6 separate regions of the Homo sapiens genome follow, and regions 1, 2, 3, 5 and 6 are each linked to region 4. The links are contacts of gene promoters, found by promoter capture Hi-C in human tissues and cell types (Jung and others, 2019). All regions are on one chromosome and are shown on one strand. The core of a region is centred on a gene start or on the middle of the fragment in contact, and the rest is flanking DNA. Distances in the headings are between cores, read along the strand shown. Region 1 overlaps SERP2 (stress associated endoplasmic reticulum protein family member 2). Region 2 holds the start of LOC105370182 (a long non-coding RNA gene). Region 3 has its middle 52 kb from the start of SERP2. Region 4 holds the start of SMIM2 (small integral membrane protein 2). Region 5 has its middle 63 kb from the start of LACC1. Region 6 overlaps LOC105370182 (a long non-coding RNA gene).

Evidence for each region. The method cuts DNA at HindIII sites, captures the fragments that hold promoters and counts their contacts. A contact is called where the count stands out against the background at its distance.
Region 1: a contact is called between a fragment that was not itself captured here and the fragment with the promoter of SMIM2 in region 4, in 6 of the 25 tissues and cell types used here (H1 embryonic stem cells, aorta, dorsolateral prefrontal cortex and 3 more).
Region 2: a fragment that was not itself captured here is called in contact with the fragment with the promoter of SMIM2 in region 4 in 5 of the 25 tissues and cell types used here (H1 embryonic stem cells, dorsolateral prefrontal cortex, heart left ventricle and 2 more).
Region 3: a contact is called between a fragment that was not itself captured here and the fragment with the promoter of SMIM2 in region 4, in 3 of the 25 tissues and cell types used here (bladder, dorsolateral prefrontal cortex and mesenchymal stem cells).
Region 5: a contact is called between a fragment that was not itself captured here and the fragment with the promoter of SMIM2 in region 4, in 2 of the 25 tissues and cell types used here (hippocampus and mesenchymal stem cells).
Region 6: a contact is called between a fragment that was not itself captured here and the fragment with the promoter of SMIM2 in region 4, in 2 of the 25 tissues and cell types used here (aorta and small bowel).

Annotation. Positions count from the first base shown.
Region 1 is chr13:44,394,982-44,397,681 of GRCh38, forward strand. SERP2 (stress associated endoplasmic reticulum protein family member 2) reads left to right here. Exons shown (of 3, transcript NM_001010897.3): 3 at 2,291-2,700. The coding sequence ends at 2,331. Among named protein-coding and RNA genes, the nearest start is that of TUSC8, 9.7 kb to the right of the region's middle. The HindIII fragment of the contact is 9,805 bases long and covers 1-2,700 here.
Region 2 is chr13:44,014,634-44,017,333 of GRCh38, forward strand. LOC105370182 (a long non-coding RNA gene) reads right to left here and starts at 409. Exons shown (of 6, transcript XR_941918.3): 1 at 202-409. The HindIII fragment of the contact is 6,234 bases long and covers 1-2,700 here.
Region 3 is chr13:44,320,931-44,323,630 of GRCh38, forward strand. No RefSeq gene overlaps it. Among named protein-coding and RNA genes, the nearest start is that of SERP2, 52 kb to the right of the region's middle. The HindIII fragment of the contact is 4,651 bases long and covers 1-2,700 here.
Region 4 is chr13:44,159,860-44,162,559 of GRCh38, forward strand. It overlaps SMIM2 (small integral membrane protein 2), which reads right to left and starts at 1,398. Exons shown (of 3, transcript NR_197392.1): 1 at 1,286-1,398; 2 at 744-1,072. RefSeq lists an enhancer at 1-529. The HindIII fragment of the contact is 7,742 bases long and covers 1-2,700 here.
Region 5 is chr13:43,941,455-43,944,154 of GRCh38, forward strand. No RefSeq gene overlaps it. Among named protein-coding and RNA genes, the nearest start is that of LACC1, 63 kb to the left of the region's middle. The HindIII fragment of the contact is 6,702 bases long and covers 1-2,700 here.
Region 6 is chr13:43,996,242-43,998,941 of GRCh38, forward strand. It overlaps LOC105370182 (a long non-coding RNA gene), which reads right to left. Exons shown (of 6, transcript XR_941918.3): 4 at 1,763-1,972. Among named protein-coding and RNA genes, the nearest start is that of NRAD1, 25 kb to the right of the region's middle. The HindIII fragment of the contact is 3,546 bases long and covers 1-2,700 here.

The DNA of each region.
Region 1 (2,700 bases), core at 194-2,693, 240 kb after region 4:
TTGTCCAGTCACACAGCTTTTCAGCAAAGAGCTGATATTCAACCCAATTCCATCTGATCCTAACTTTCTGCTCTAAAGTCAACTTGTTCGTCAGGATTAGCGATAGTTCCCTGATCACAAGAACAAAGTCTGAGGCATGGTAGAAGTAATCTTTTTTTTCCTAATGTTGAATATACAGCTGCCTCCTGACATTCCTATTGAGCCAGAATACAGAATGTTTATTTAATTTTTACTCCTTGTGAGCCTTGGTGGGGAGGAAAGAAACATCAGATATTTCTGCAAGCTTATAAATTGTTGTAGGGTACTTTCTCTTCCAACTGCTCCTGTTAAGACCCACCCAAGGCCGGGCACGGTGGCTCACGCCTATAATCCCAGGACTTTGGGAGGCTGAGGTGGGTGGATCACGAGGTCAGGAGATCGAGACCATTCTGGCTAACACGGTGAAATCCCGTCTCTACTAAAAATACAAAAAATTAGCCGGGCATGGTAGCGGGCACCTGTAGTCCCAGCTACTCGGGAGCCTGAGGCAGGAGAATGGCGTGAACCGGGGAGGCGGAGCTTGCAGTGAGCCGAGATCGCACCACTGCACTCCAACCTGGGCGACAGAGGAAGACTCCGTCTCAAAAAAAAAAAAAAAAAAAAAGACCCACCCAAGAACCCAAACTTAGCTAAGAAAATATCTGAGCACATCCAGAATTAAATATCACAAGTTGTTGGACCAACACCTTCACCATATCTACAGATGAGTCCCTGACACTCACATGGAGCTGATTGACTCTGATTTGACTCGTAATTCTAACAGTTTCTGTTTTCAGCTTAGTCTACGGCAACAAAATAATAGTACAGGACCCACTGCAGATTGGTGTAGTAATACAAGAGATGTGACCAGAGATGAGAAGAAAGAGACCCAAAAAATGATCAGAAGCAGAAATGGGAGCCCAGAAGTGCAGCTGACCAGAAGCATTTCAGTGTCAGATCACACGCAGCCTCCTCTGTAATGAGATCACAGCACGTCTCATCAGTTACTGGTTTTCATTATGGTGACACTGAACACTCATGAAAAGTTAGCATTGAAATATGTTGGTATCTCCAATTTAGAAAGGTAGTGATGATGGGTACAGTGTTTTTACGGGGAAAAAAAGCCAAAAAATGCATTCATGTTTGTCTACTCTTAAAACCCAGCTGTCCAAGAACGATTCCCCAAGGCCCTGTCCATCATTTCTCTTTCTATCCTTGAAGCGCAGTGTCTGACACATAGGATGTGCTCATTGATGCCAGATGATGAAACTTGAATGGCTGGTTTCCTAGGGTTCTGGATAACTCTGTTTTACCGTGGATCCTGGATGTATTCCAGGATGACTTTAAGAAGGCGAGAAGGGGTAAGACCCCTGAGAGCTCAGTGTTTATTCTGTTTTTACACATGGTTAGATGAGATGATACCCACCCTCCTTCAAAAAAAAAAAAAAAAAGCCATTCAATACATGGTAGTTACTCTTATCATTACCATCATCTTTGTCAACACTGACCACGGTTGCTCACTGGGGAAGATGTGAAAAAGAAGTTGGGATCTTCCGCTCCTGGGACACATTTGAAACCCAATAGCTGGAAGCAGGCTGAAGCTATGTAACCAGCTCTCATCCACATGGGCAAGGGTCCCAGGAGTTCTCTGTGGGCTTACAAGCTACCCACCCCCTTGACAACTCCAGTTATTAAAGGTTGAGCCCTGAATAAATAAGTGCCGCTCTCCATAAGAGACAGCCGCCTTTCAGAGAGTTCCAAGCAGCTGGAAGATACTCACGCATGGAGGGTTCTAGGCAGACAGAGGCCGGGCCCCGTGGGCTGCTCCGAGCACCTGGTCGGCCTTCCCAGCACAGGGCTCATTGTTTTACAGGTCACAGCCATTTTGAAAAGGCAGACTCACTGACCTGTTTAATGAGTGCAGTTTCTGCACGAAAGCCCATATCCCTCTCCCAGGCAGCCCCAGAACTTTGCTGGGGAAGGGGGCCAAATCTCTTCTCAGTGCCTGAGGGATTTCTGGCCTTAACTGCTGGTGGAATTAGCAGGAGTTATCTATAAATCCCTGAGGCATCCATCAGCCGACTGAGCGAGGCTGCCTTTTTAAAGAAGTTCACTGACCTCTTGTTAACTTAACTCCTTGTTAGGAAATATCTAATCAGCTGTGAGCTAACACGTCAGGGCCCAGGGGTCTGCAGAAGCCGGGCTCACTGTGGGCTGGGTTTCCAGCTGTGTGCAGTCTGGTGTCTGAGCTGTGGTGTTTTCCTCTTTTCAGCTATCTTTCAGATCATTCAGAGCATAAGGATGGGCATGTGAGAAAGCCAGGGATTTGACACCACCTCCCTCCCACTGGAGGCGGGAGGACAACGGAAGCGGTCAGCCAGTTTCTGCGGGAAACAAGCAGGCCACACGGAATAGAAAAAAACGCTCCCCCACTTGTTCCCTGATCACTTCATCGTGGATGTCAGACCAAATTGCCTTCTCACAGGACATCTTGGTGCATCCGCGTTCTCAAGCGGAAAGGACATTTTGCTTTTCTGTTGGCAGGATTAGTAGCCACGCGGGTCGTCCGCAGCAGTGCTGTTTTTTTGGTTTTTCCCTTGGTTTCACTAATGCGTGCATGTGGCCCTCTGAACGATCACTGGTTTACTTTCTATGGATACAATCTCTCCTCCATTGAGAATT
Region 2 (2,700 bases), core at 2-2,501, 150 kb before region 4:
CCCTTGTACATTTTCCCACCCTACAGCCCGTTGCCAGATCCCGTTATACTCAGGGAATATCCTGTCTGCCTAGGCTCCCTTCCTGGCTATTAGAAGTCAAAGCCCTTCGCGTGACAGTAAGAACGGAGCCTGAAAACGATTCTGCAAGTCTGGTTTCTACAGGGATCACGGGCCAATAATACCTGTCCAGAACTCACTTACCAGTTCCAAGTGGGTCAGCACAGCAAGAGGACATCAAATTGTGAAACCTACTAGTTATGGAGCTAGGCAGAACTGAGGTTATGATGAGGTTCAGAGTTTAGACAATGAAGCTTTGAGGAAAATTCCCATAGCTGGGAATTCATAGCAGCTTTACTGTACTTCTTAAACCTCAGACTTAGATGTGGGAGGAGCACCTGGAGTTGATACAAAGTAGATGCAGCAGCCAGTGGCACTCAAATTCAGAGTCAGAGCTCCCAACAAAATTCAGTTAAGAAATCACAACCTAGTCAATTCTCAGCCTGTAGGCTAAAATCAAGTGTGAGAAAATCGCAGCCCATAGACCCTAGCCCAAATAAACTGGACTCTTTCCACAACTATGCTGGCCTTTTGCAGTAAGCCTAAGTGCTTTAAGGATGTATCTGTTCTGGATCTCACTGTTAGGCTGTGGTCAGACAGGCTGGTGAGCTGGGAAAAGCCTTTGTGAGGCCCGGAAACTCTTTGGTGGCTGGGAGCAACTTGGGAAGGGGGAAATCCCCTCTGGCCTTATCTGTCCAAGCCCTGCTTTCTTCTCTCCTCTATCTTCCACTCCTTTCTTCTCTCCACGAGTGCCTCAGAACCATCAAACCCTCTAGTGCCTTAGCCCTGATGTTAGGACGCTGTTGGGGCCTTGGGCGTGGCTGCTGAGTGCCCAGTCTCTGGAAGTGAGTCGTCCATTTGTTGGGATGGACAGGGACCCTGCACAGGGACCCTGTGGTTGATACTGTCTTGTTCCAGTGCTGGTTTTGAATCTTGGCCAACAGAACACAGAGCTCGTGCCACATGCAGTGAGCATAGCCCCTCCTTGGAGCCTGCCTACCTTTTCCCAAAGGAAGAAGAGTGGACAGTTTTGCAAACAGGAAAGGAGAATTTATGTGCTTCAGGAAGGGCAGTGCCTCTAAGAGGGAGAAATAACACTTGTTAAGAGGGAGAAGCTGTGTCTAACTGTGTCTTTCTTGGTTTGCCTAAATGTAGGCCATTCAGTGGCTTCTCAGGAGAGAGATAGGAGCGAGGGAGGGAGAGAACGGGAGAGATATGCAGGGAAGGAGATTAACCTGGCATCTTGTTATTGCAAAAGAAGTGCCACAGGAAATAACAATGTCTGGAGAAAGAGTAAATAAAGTGCCCTTGTGGCGCAAGAAGGAATGGGATGAGGGATGGACTTCCTATTGAAAACTGGACTTTGGCAGTGGAAGCTGGTTGTGAGTTACTCAGACTTGTAACTAATGAAATCTTTCATTAGGTTGGAGGGTGGATGGGTTACTTTCGATAAATTATTTCCAGGGATTTTGCTCGTTCCTCGAATTCCTTCCTGAATGGATCTGGGATAAAATGCTGAATCAAAGTGTCAGGCAGGAGCTGCAGCACGGCAATCCAAATGATAAACAAGGGTAAGGGAAGGCCCAGCAAACGGCAGGATCTGAAGTTTCTGGCACCAAAAGAAAAGCTTACAACCCAGGTCCTACCTTGGAATTGCCCTTTATTATAAACTTTTGAATGATGCGAGCATAAAGCAAAGTTAGTTTCTGATTTGTTAGACTCATTATGAAAATATTATTGGTAATACAGAACTCACGTAAGCAAATACAACAATATCATAAAGGTCTAAAAGTGACCTGGTGAACTCTACCTAATGCTATTGGATATATAATCCCCACGTGAAGTTTCCTTTTTTGCAGATTCATTTAAGAGCCCTTCAACACTGATTAGATAACGAGGAAAATGGCAACTACAAGATTTGAAACCCAAGTGGCCAAGGAAATAGAGTTGCCATTAATGGAAATAGAAAAGACCCCAGGAATGACTGGCTTGAGAGAAAGCTGATGTCACATGCTGAGTGTGAGATGTTGGAGAGATACCGAGTTAGAAACAGTACCTTGGAGGCAGGAGTGACTTGGAAAAAGTTCTAGGAATTAGTCATAGTAGAAGCCAAGGAAGTAGATATGATCAAAAAGTGAGAGATGGTGAGGGAGCAGAGAAGGATGCGAAAAAGACACCTGGAAAATGCAACTGTGTGGGGATTGGCCAAGGACAGGAATCCCTGGAGATGGAAACGAGGAAATGGAAATAAACTAAGGAGAGAACCAGCACAGAGCATTTGTATGGAGGCCAAGGGAGAGTGTAATCAACAGTGGCCTACAAGGCCTTACTTAGATGGCCTGGGTTCTGTAGCTCTCTGACGCCTTCCTATGAGCTTTCCCTCAACTTTTTCCTCTCTAGTGCCCTGGCCTCCTTGCTGCTCCCTGAACACACAGACATGTCCTGTTAGGGCCTTAGCACTGGCTATAGCCTCTACCTGGAGCACCCTCTCTCTGAGGTCCACATGGCTCTCTCTCTCTCTCCTCCTGCAAGTCTCTGTTGTCACCTTCTCAGTGAAATGTACCCAACGGCCCTTGCAACACCAAGACTTCCTCCTACATGCACCTCTGTGACTCCCTACCCTGCCCTATTTTCCTTTTTTCT
Region 3 (2,700 bases), core at 77-2,576, 160 kb after region 4:
TGGTTCACATCTTCAATGTATGTCTTTATCATGGGATTTAGAAAGTGGATGTTCATTCAACCAGGCATATAAGATTTTTCGTTGCCTACAGTTCTGCTCTTAATTAGCCCTATCTCCATTAAGTATGACTCAAGACTACATTTCTTGATAACGTAGATGAAATTGGTTAAGAAAATTAAAAACTGGAAAGAGACAGGCAATACAAATCAGTTTTCAAGAATTTGTGATGAGCAATTGAATCCAGCCTTTTCTTTGAGATGTGAGCAGACTCTGTTTTGAATGGCTTCTCTGCGGATAAGTAGACTTGAAAGCAGGGAAGCTGTCTGATGCAGCAGAGAGGTTGTGATGTTGAGGTAATTATTGATGCCACCAATATCTGCCTGTGTGACCTTTCCTTGCACAAGTTATTTAATTTCCCTGGGATTTGGTTTCCCCTTATATAAAGTAAGGGATTTGGATTAGATGAATTGGATTAGATGAGTCCTAAATCTGCTCAAGCTTTGAACATTTAAAATTTTGTATCAAGCAATCTATGCTGAGAGCTTTACAACATATCAGAAAGCAAGCGATTTAGAGAGAGTTCTGCCTCTTGTGAAGCTCAAATGCACATCCTACGAAGGCTTCTCACTTTGGTTTTCCCTAAAACCAGGACATTTTAGTCATCTTAGGAATCTCAATTATTATGAAAAGTTTCCCAACTTAACAGGGACAGATTTTCATAAACATAGAAGGGTGGGGGTGTCAGAAAACTTTACTAACAGAAGGTACTTCAAATGGAGAAATATAGTGGGTGTTTTAGTCAAGGTTATCCAGGAAAACAGAACCAATAGAATATATAGAGAGAGACATATATAAGAAGAGATGTAGAAATTGGTTCATGCAATTATGGAGACCAAGAAGCTCCGTGATCTACCACTGCAAGCTGAAGACCAGGAAAGCTGGTGGCATAACTCAGTCAGAAGGCCTGAGAGTAGGGGGCGAGGAGGTGAGAAAGAGGATGGTAATAGTGTAAGTCCCTGTCTGAGTCCAAAAGACGGATGTCTCAGCTCAAGCAGAGAGAGCAAATTGGCCCCTTCTTCACCTTTTTGTTCTATTCAGGCCCTCAAATAATTGGAAAATGCCCAGGCATGGTGGAGGGCCATCTGCTTTATTTTGTTCACCAAGTCAAATGCTAATTTCTTCCCAAAATACCCTCACCGACTCACCAGGAATAATGTTTTACCAGCTATCTGGGCATCCCTTAGCCCAGTCAAGTTAACACACAAAATTAACCATCATGGTGGAAGGATGGAGGCATCACCCTACAGCCATAGTTCTGAATCCTGTTTTGGTTTGTACCAGTCTCCAATGGTTCATTAACAGTAAATACTATGGCAAATATGCAATGAAGATTTTTTCATTAAATATTTAAATTTTAGCATGGCATTTGATTTATACTTTTCAATTGATTGGTCCTTCACAACCATGGATTCATAGTTTAAAATGAGGTCATGTCAAAATGGAAGAATAGTGACTATGGTAAACACAATGACTCAGACTAATCCAAGGATTCATATTGACAAGTGGGCTATAAAAATGTAGATACATCAGCCTACCATTTAGCCCAATATTAGCAATTTAGTTTCAGCAAAACATCACCTAACACATGAAATCAGTGTTGTTAACTTGAATGTTATTGTTGGTGTTGTCTTGTTTGTATTTAATTAGTGCATTTTTAATGGTTCTATAATAAACATAACCATAAGAAATGTATGGCTACTTTCATATTTGTGCATTTTTATGTAATGCTATAATAAAAATAATTTAAATCAAAAGTTGGGATCTCCAAGAATTTTTTTCAAAGATATTCATCCTCAGGTTCTCCAAACATCACAGTAAATGAATGTGAAGTTTATTTCTTCATATATCAGATGGAGATGATAATTGTTTAGTTCACAAGGCTATTAAGAAGATGAAATGTGATAACAGTTGAAAGAGGTCTGGAAAGTATAATTTGTTACATAAAATCAAGGAAGTAAAACAGTATTTACTATAAAACAAGCACAAGTAAAAAAACAAAACAGCTAGCCAGTATCTACCTCCCAGCCTGTGTGTTCAGGCCTCTTGGCAGAAATGTACTTACAGGTAAAGAGTAATGACTTATAACCTAGATGTGTTCCTTGGGGATTCCCATACATGCGGCAGAATTTAACCTGCCTCATTGCATCACTGTCTCTGTAAACACATAGAAACAAGTTTACTCAGGGCTCCGCTCAGCTATTTGGGAAAAAACCAGGTCCAGGTAAATGCAGCTGCCCACTCATGAAACTGAAGCTTCCCAGAACTGTTTACAAGCACCTGATTACAGAAGAAGGCTTGAAATCTAAGCTGAAAAGCCTTTTGACAAAGGCAGGTAGGCAAGATTTTCTACAGCATGGTCTTTAGCACCAAGGGATCCAAATGCTCTGCCTTTCCTAAAGCACTGCAAGCCGGTCGGGACTCAGGGAGGTGAATGCATGCGGGGCCTGCAAGGCAGGCTTCTAGACAGCTCAAAGCATGAAGGACAGTGAGGGGGAGCAAGGGAATACCAAGACGTATCAGGATTTCTGCATGAAGCTACTCACTAATGCCCAGGTATTGGTATTTACTAAAGAGAGGGTGGGTCACTTCCACCAATTAAAATAAAATTTGGGTAAGCCAAACATTACCTAGTAATTGCAG
Region 4 (2,700 bases), core at 148-2,647:
AGCAGTTTACAAGATGCTGGCTCATTCCTCATCATGCCACTTGGAAGGAGAGCAAAAGGTGGGGAAAGAGGAAGGGCCAACATCATCATCTGCATTTTATGTGGGGAAACTGAGGCTCACATAAGCCGTAAAGTGAAATGTATAGACATTTATGAGTCAGAAATCGACCATGGAAGAGGCAAAATGAGCTTATCTGAATCATGAGTGGACTATTTCTTGCCCAACAATTTCATGCAGCTCTTCCAACACAACTGTTTTGATACAGCAGCCTCAAAACAAGCCAAAATTCAGACTCGCTGTATTTGGTTTATAACCAGTTTCCCATCTTTCATTCCTTCTCTGACTTCTACCTGACTTCTGAATTTGGTTGACCCTGTTTTTTTGTTTGTTTGTTTGTTTTGTTTTACTTTAAAAGACCCTCAACCCTCCTGGAGTCCTGACCTGCTATTTCTTTCATTTTGAACCTCTACCAGTCCTTTCCTTCATCTGTTACCAATCCATACACCCTTGATGCCTGGAGGTAAGATTGACAATGGAGGGGGGGAGGTGAAGATCAAGGTTGAGGTGAAGCTCACAGATGGCCTGCAAGATGCCTATTTTACTCATCATTTATTTTTTAAAAAGCTGAACATTTATCGGCTGAATCTTTGAGCCATACCAAAATATCCTCATGTCAAAATAGCTGCAGTAAAGTGGTTCTATTAAAATAGCTGCCTCCAAAGAACTGAGAGTGGAGATGTCACCTGCTTCTGGCACCTGACTTTGGTCCTCTTCTGCGTGGCATTGCCTTCTGCTCTGCTGGATTCTGGCGTATGGCTCATCAGAGGAGGCACTAACATCAGGGCTGCCTTTTATCTTGCTGATCCAAGCGAGGACTATGTAGGTGTCACAGATGAAACTCGTCCAGAAGCCGAACAGGATGCTAATGGCATGGCCACGTGTTTCCAGCACCCTGTGAGGCAGCTGGCTGGCATCAATCCTCTCCCCAGCTTCCATCCCACCCCCATCCACCCATAAGCTCTTCTTGGGTCAGAAATGCAATTCTTTGATGGTGCCAGACAGCCAGATGATGCTGGAAAGAAGAAAGAAAAAGAAAAAGCAGGTTTCTAAATTAAGCACAAGGCTCGTTTATAAAAATAAATAGCCACAGCCTAGCAACGTGCTCACAGCTCAGCTTTCCTCCGTAATAAAACCTCTGTGGCTGAAGCCTGGGATGACACAGCCTTCAGAGGGCCCCACGCCCTGGCCCTCCTCATGCCCTGGCCTCTCCCAGGATAATACTCACCTGGAGAGTGCTGACAGTGGTACTTTTGGGGCCCCACTCTTCATTCAAGGCCAACCAAAGGCCAGGCTCCAAAAAGCAGAAGGAAGGCAGAGCTTAATGAGGCCCATGAACACTTACAGACTCTTGGCAGTAACTAATACACCTGTAGCAAAAGTGGTTGAAGTTCCTTGGGCTACTCTGTTGAAATAGGAACTTCTAGTTAAGACCATGTCTTCTTTGTTCACCATTGAACAGTACTCAGCTAAGCACAGGGCACGTATTGAGTACTCAACCAGTATGTGAGGAAAGACTGGTTAGAGGTATAAATGAATGAATGAATGTTGCCATCCCATTATTGATGCTCTCCAAACTCTTCACTACAAATGGAGTCAGTTCCAGAATCCAAAGCCAGCATTCTTCTCCTGATTATGACATGCACCAAAGAGGCATCCCCTGAGCTGGATGTTTAAATCAGAGCCCACAGCTGAAGTGAGCACCAAGATGTACTGAGCAAGTGTGGACTCTTACTGATCCAAGTGGTGAGGCTCTTACAATGGGCAAGGGCAGAGGGCATGCGATATGTAGGTAACTATTGTTAGCATTCCTGAATCTTCTCCTGTTCTTTAGGCAGCAGCAGCTTCAAGGGTGAACTGTTGCTCAGCAGAGAAATGGCAGGAAAAAATAGGACATTCGCTTCTGGCCTTAGTCCTGTTGGAACACAAAAAGTGGAGTCTGCAATGCTGTTGGAGGCTCAACAGGTCAAATACATCAGTAATGGGCATGGTATGGCTGGGGTCATACGGAGACAGTCCTTAGAGCACTGAAAATGTGATCATCCTGAATCCCATAAGGATCCTTATGAGGTTAGAAGGGACAATGTGGCTCCACTTTGATGACTGACAGCAGTTGCTTTGGTGAGTTTCTACGTATTCCCTTGTGATCAGAGAGTGGTACAGGACAGCATGTCAAAATCGTAAACCACCATCTCAGAGCAAGGCCCCTTAGTTACAATATTAAAAAGATCAGAGAAATTGGCACATAGCATCATTTAGAAATCTGTCTTCAGGCATCTTTGTCTGGCCTGGCTGGAAATAGTAAAACCATATTTATGTCATTGAGAAAAAGGTTCTTAATTAAATTCAAATGTATAAGAATATATCGTAGGTCTATTTTTGGAACAATAATCTGGGAACAAAAAAAAATCTAAACAGCAACAAAACTTGTACAATAGCATTTAGCTTCAGACAGCAGCATACAATAGAGAAGAAGGAGTCCTCATAGACTCTGGACTCTTAGATTGATTCAATCCCACAAGCTAGAGCACCAAAGTCATGGCACTGGGACATTTAGGAAGAGGAACTCTAGCAGTGACCTGATTAGGAGACAGCTCCAGCAGAGAGTCAGCACATAGACTGGCCAAGCTGCCCCCAGATCTT
Region 5 (2,700 bases), core at 102-2,601, 220 kb before region 4:
ATCCATTCCACTGAAGGCCTGGATAGAACAGAAAGGCAAAGGAAAGCTGAATTTGCTCTTTCTTCTGGAGCAGGGAAACTTGTCTTCTCCTACCCTTGGACATTAGAACTTCAGGTTCTCTGGTCTTTGTTTCTCAGCCCTTTGGACTTAGACTGAAGCAAGTTACCAGCTTCCCTGGTTCTCCAGCTTGCAAATGACCTATCATGAAACTTCTCAGCTTCAATAATCATGTGAGCCAATTTTCATAATAAATCCTCTATCTATCTATCTCTCTATCTATCTATCTATCCATCCCATTGACTCTGTTTCACTGGAGAACCCTGAGTAACATAGTTTTCTTTGGGAATTGCCTTATCTGAAGAGAGTTACCCTGCCAAAGGTCATGTTTCCTACCTATAGGGTAGTCATTTCCAATAACTGGACCCCCTTAACCCAGCTCAGGACAACTCTGAAGGTCGATTCCATCTTTTGGTAGGATTAGCTCTGGTCCTTGTTGGGACCACATCACAACCCTACTTCTTCCTCTGCCTAATCCTATTTCTATCCTTTCCATCAGTGAGGACCAAGAGGACTCCCTAACAAACTTTCTACTTATTAATCTTTATCTCAGTCTACTTCTTGGGAGTCCTGACCTGCAGCAGTTAGTACTAGCAGAATATCAAGGAAACAGACACTGATTTAGCATTTAGGGGCTGGATGACCTGCTGCCTAGCTAGGAGTAAAGACACCATCACTGGTGGTAGAGATTAGTACTATGCCTGAGCCCAACAGAAATCAGCATGGCCAGCAGCAGAGATCAATGCCGAGTCCCCAGTACAGCACCAACCCTCCAGAATGCCAACCAGCCACTTGGTGGCAAGTTAAACACATTAGACATTTTCCACCCTGGAAAGAGTAGTGGCTTATTTTGATAGAAATAGAAATATATTTGGGGAATGTATGTAAAAGTTTGTCTTTCCTTTCCACAGAGCTTCAACCAGCACTACTACTTGAGGACCTATGCAGTGTTTGTCCATGAGCATGGAATGACTCATACTGGCCTCAGAGTTAGGGACTCACTTTAAAGGAAAGGGGATGCAGTAGTGGGCACATGACTAAGAAATCCACCGATCCTCTCATATACTGCACCACCAGAAGCTGCTGGATTAGCAGAGCAAAGGTATGTTCAAAGAACAGCTGAAGCAGGAACTTTGAGATTATACTTTGTGGGGATGGGTGTCATTATCTAGGGTGCAGTGCTTACCAGTAATCAATGAATTTTATGTAGTGCTACATCCCCACTAGATAGAATACATGGGTCCTGGAATTAAGGGGTAGAGGCATGAATGGTCCTTCATCTCTCCCAGTTATCTGCTTGCGGGATGTATCTTCCTTTCCTGGCATCTCTGGGTTCTGTGGGTTTAGTGGTCCTGGTTCCCAGAGAGGAAATGCTTTCACCAGAGGACACAGCAGGAATCTTACTAAACTATAAGCTGAAGCTGACTCTTGGGCACTTTGAGATCTTCGTGCTAAGGGACCGACAGGCAAGAAGGGGATGCTTCCTGGCATCATTAGGACATTGGGCTACTGTTATACAATGGAGACAGGGAAGAATATATATGGCACCCACATTATTTATTTAGGTGCCTCTTGTTATTCCTTTGCCCAAGTTTGACAATAGTAGACAAGTGCAAAAGCCATAATCAGAGAAGGACATGGTGATTGAGAGCTCAGACCCCACAGGATAAGGGTCTGGTTCATGTTACCAGGCAAGACAAATAAACCTGTGGAGTTTCTAGGTGAGTTTAGGGAGCATATAGAATGGAGAGTAGAGGAGGGAGAATGTGATCCCAAGACTGGCTGCAGTGGCTAGAGATGTATTTTATTCCACTAAACCTCAATAAGTTTCACTGAGAATCAGATGCCCCAGCATCCTAACTAAGCTGCCTCCAGAATTTATACAAAGCAGTGGATTCAAAGGGTGGACTCTGGTGAAATGTTGCCCATATTCCTATTCAATACTTAAAATCTTACTCCTCAAGAGGTTGAGAATGTTGCAAACAGACAGTTTTAGCTTTCAGGTGTCTTTGGAAATTGTCTCAACTTAAGAGCTGCTGTGACTTCTTGGGGCAGCTAGCATCCAATGTTGGGGGTATAAAGACTTGTCTCCTCGTTTTGAAACTTGGTATATTCTAAAAAGCCATTCTAGCTTCAGAACTCCCTGTGGGGCTGGCTGAGGTCTTTGTTGAGACTGCAGTTATAGCCTAATTTCTCCCTTTTCCCAGCATTCTTATTTTCCTTCCCTTCTTCAGGTGTTGATCAAGAGTACCTCTAATAACTTCTTCCATGCAAAACCACTACTCACTCTCTGGTTCCCTGGGCATCCACCTGCAACAGTACTATAAAAATATATAAAACAGCAAAATGAAATAGAAGATCAGATACAAGGCGAGGCTACTCTAGTTATGATGATCAGATAAGTCTCTAAGGAGCTGAGATGTGAATGATGAGAAAGATCACAGAAAGATCTGGGGGAGTAGCATGTACCATTCCAGACAGAAAGAAATATGAAGGCCCTGAGGTGACAATGAGCTTAACATGTTCCAGAAAAAGAAAGAAGGTCAGTGTAACTCAGGCATGACAAATGAGAATGAGGCTGATGGAAACAGTGGCCAGATCATGGAATTTGAACTTTATTCTAAATGCAATAAGGAGTTACTA
Region 6 (2,700 bases), core at 131-2,630, 160 kb before region 4:
ATGTTTTCTAGCCCTTAGCATACTCTTTTCTCATGGAGCCAGTCTCTTGATTCCTTGAAATTTTAACATTTAAAACATATCCTAAAGCTTCTGGCCTCCTTGAAGACTTTTCAGAAAACCCTTCTCTAGAGCTCTTCAGATTTGGTTGGCTCAGTCAGAGCTTATTTGAAGCCAAAGCAAGCTACATATGTGACTTCTGTGTCTTATTTGCACATTGTCAAGTCTTTTCATTTAACCTGGGCCTTGGATCTGTCCCACATGGGCAAGGAAGTCCTTTGATAGTGGCATGATCTTGAGAAGCATATTCTGCAGATGGTGGATGATGTTAATAGAGTCTAACTAATCAACAGGTTTAACTTGGCATAGAGGAAATGAGACATGAAGGCCCAAAGGGTGGCTGATAAAAAGGCACAGAGTTACCTGAATGGGCTGTGTTCCATTTTAAGGTTCCTGGTCCAAATGTAATTGAGAACTGTCGTGGCTCAAAGCCCTAGTATCACAACTGACGGCTATTTGGCCATTTCCTGCTTTGGGCTCTTAGTTCAGTTACTAGAGGACATATGCCCTGCAGACTTCAACTCACAAGTATAAAGAAATCATATCTTTAAAAAAATACGGTTTCCAAAAATATAACATAACTAAATAAAACCCAGTACTGAAGGCAGGAAGAAAGAGCAGTCTCTTAATGCTTAGTTGAAGTAGCTGCTACAGCACATGGGACATTTTGTTCATTTCTTTTATTGAAGACAGATTGGAGAAATGAGAAGCAGTTGAGTTCGGGAAATTAATTATTGTATCATGTTGTCAAATCTTGTAATATTTTAAATGTAGGATTACATGGACATCATCTGAGAACTAGCAGCTATAAGGCAGCAGGGGATTGATGAGGAAAAGCAAAATGTTCTTGAGTCAGTCATTAAATCAGTTTTCCTGAAGAAAGGATAACCTTGTGTTATATGCATTCGGGGTTACAGAGTGAAAAATGTATTCTGCATTCTCATGTACACCAGGGGCATAATCTGACCCAGGTGTAACCCAATCTATGAATCAAAAGGTGCTTTATAACAGGATTTAATTGTACTTGTCTGGAATTTTGCCCCTCATTCTAGTTGTGGGATTTAATTAATCCTTACCCAGAGGTCAGTCACTTTGAGACAAATGCCATAAAAGGACAGAGAATTATCTCACTGTGAATTACAGTTAAGCACAGCCAGTTTTCATTTTATTACTATTATCAATTGTTTAAAAAACTTTGCTGAATGATTTCATTGTACATGTGCCTTCAGGCTTTCTACAGCAATTTGGAAAATACATTATAGAATAAACCACAAGATTATTAAAATGACATTAAACAGTATAAGGCCTAATTTCAAAGAAGGTTGTAATATCCATATTTACTCATATTTCATCTCCTTATATAATTATTCACACTCTGTATTTTGGGGATAGAACTTATAAGCGTGTGTTCCTACCTAATTATCTCACCACTTCCCCCTTAATTTTTTTCTTTTCTTCTTTTCTGTTGAAGGAACTCTGACTTCTAGCAAGAGCTCTTAGGAGAATTTCAGAACTAGAGGCTGAGTGATCTGGATAAAAACACCAGAATCCCTTTTTAATGTTCTTTCCTTTCAACATATCTAATTTTTTTTTCCTTCCAAAGAATACCTTTTGAACAAAACAGAGTGGGTTTGTCCTCACCACAGTTGGCAAAGGCTTAGATTAAAGCTTTCTTCCTATTGCCCTTTTATTGCCAGTTTCTTACCTGTTTCTGCCCCCTTCTTTCCTGAAGTGATAGAGATTGGTCTGTGACTGCTGCTACTGCCACCGAGCGAAATTAAGAAGGGGAAATTAAGAAGGGGAGGATGTGAGTAATAGCTCCCTCCAGACATCTGCTTGTGCTTCGGACCCCCACAACCCTGGGGGAATGGAGAGCAGATCTGAGGTGATTTGCCTGAAGCCGTTGCTTGGTAACCTGTTTTGAAGCAAACACACTGAAGTATTAAATATAAAACTTGAAAGAAAAGGAAATTTAAAATAAAGCCCACCTTTTAATCACTGCATATTTTCCCTCCCCCTTTTCTAATTCATCTTCCCTTTTTATCTCTTCAAATAAGGGGTCAGAGGTATATTTCAATCAAGATCTTTACCACAATCCCTTCTTTACACCCAGATAAAGGGTTGGATGTGGGAGGATGGTTTGTCATAAAAATATAAAATAACTTGCCTGGGTGAGTTGCCGTAGTAGAAAGAGTGCTGCATTTACAGCCAGACCACCAGTGTTCAAGTTCTAGCTTAGCTATTAACAATTGCAACTACTTAACCACACAGTGCTTCAGTTTATTAAGTTGCAACATGGGTGATATGGTTTGGTTCTGTGTCCCCACCCAAATCTCATCTCAAATTGTAATCCCCACATGTGGAGGGAGGGACCTGCAATCCCCACATGTAAAGAAAGGGAGGTGATTGTTTCATGGGACAGTATTTTCCCCATGCTGTTCTCATGACAGTGAGTGAGTTCTCACAAGATCTGATGGTTTTTATAAGTGTTTGGGAGTTCCTCCTTTGCCCATCTCTCTCCTTCCACCATGTGAAGAAGGTGGTTTCCTCCCCTTCTGCCATGATCGTAAGTGTCCTGAGGCTTCCCTAGCCAGACAGAACACTGAGTCAATTAAACCTCCTTTATTTATAAATTACCCAGTC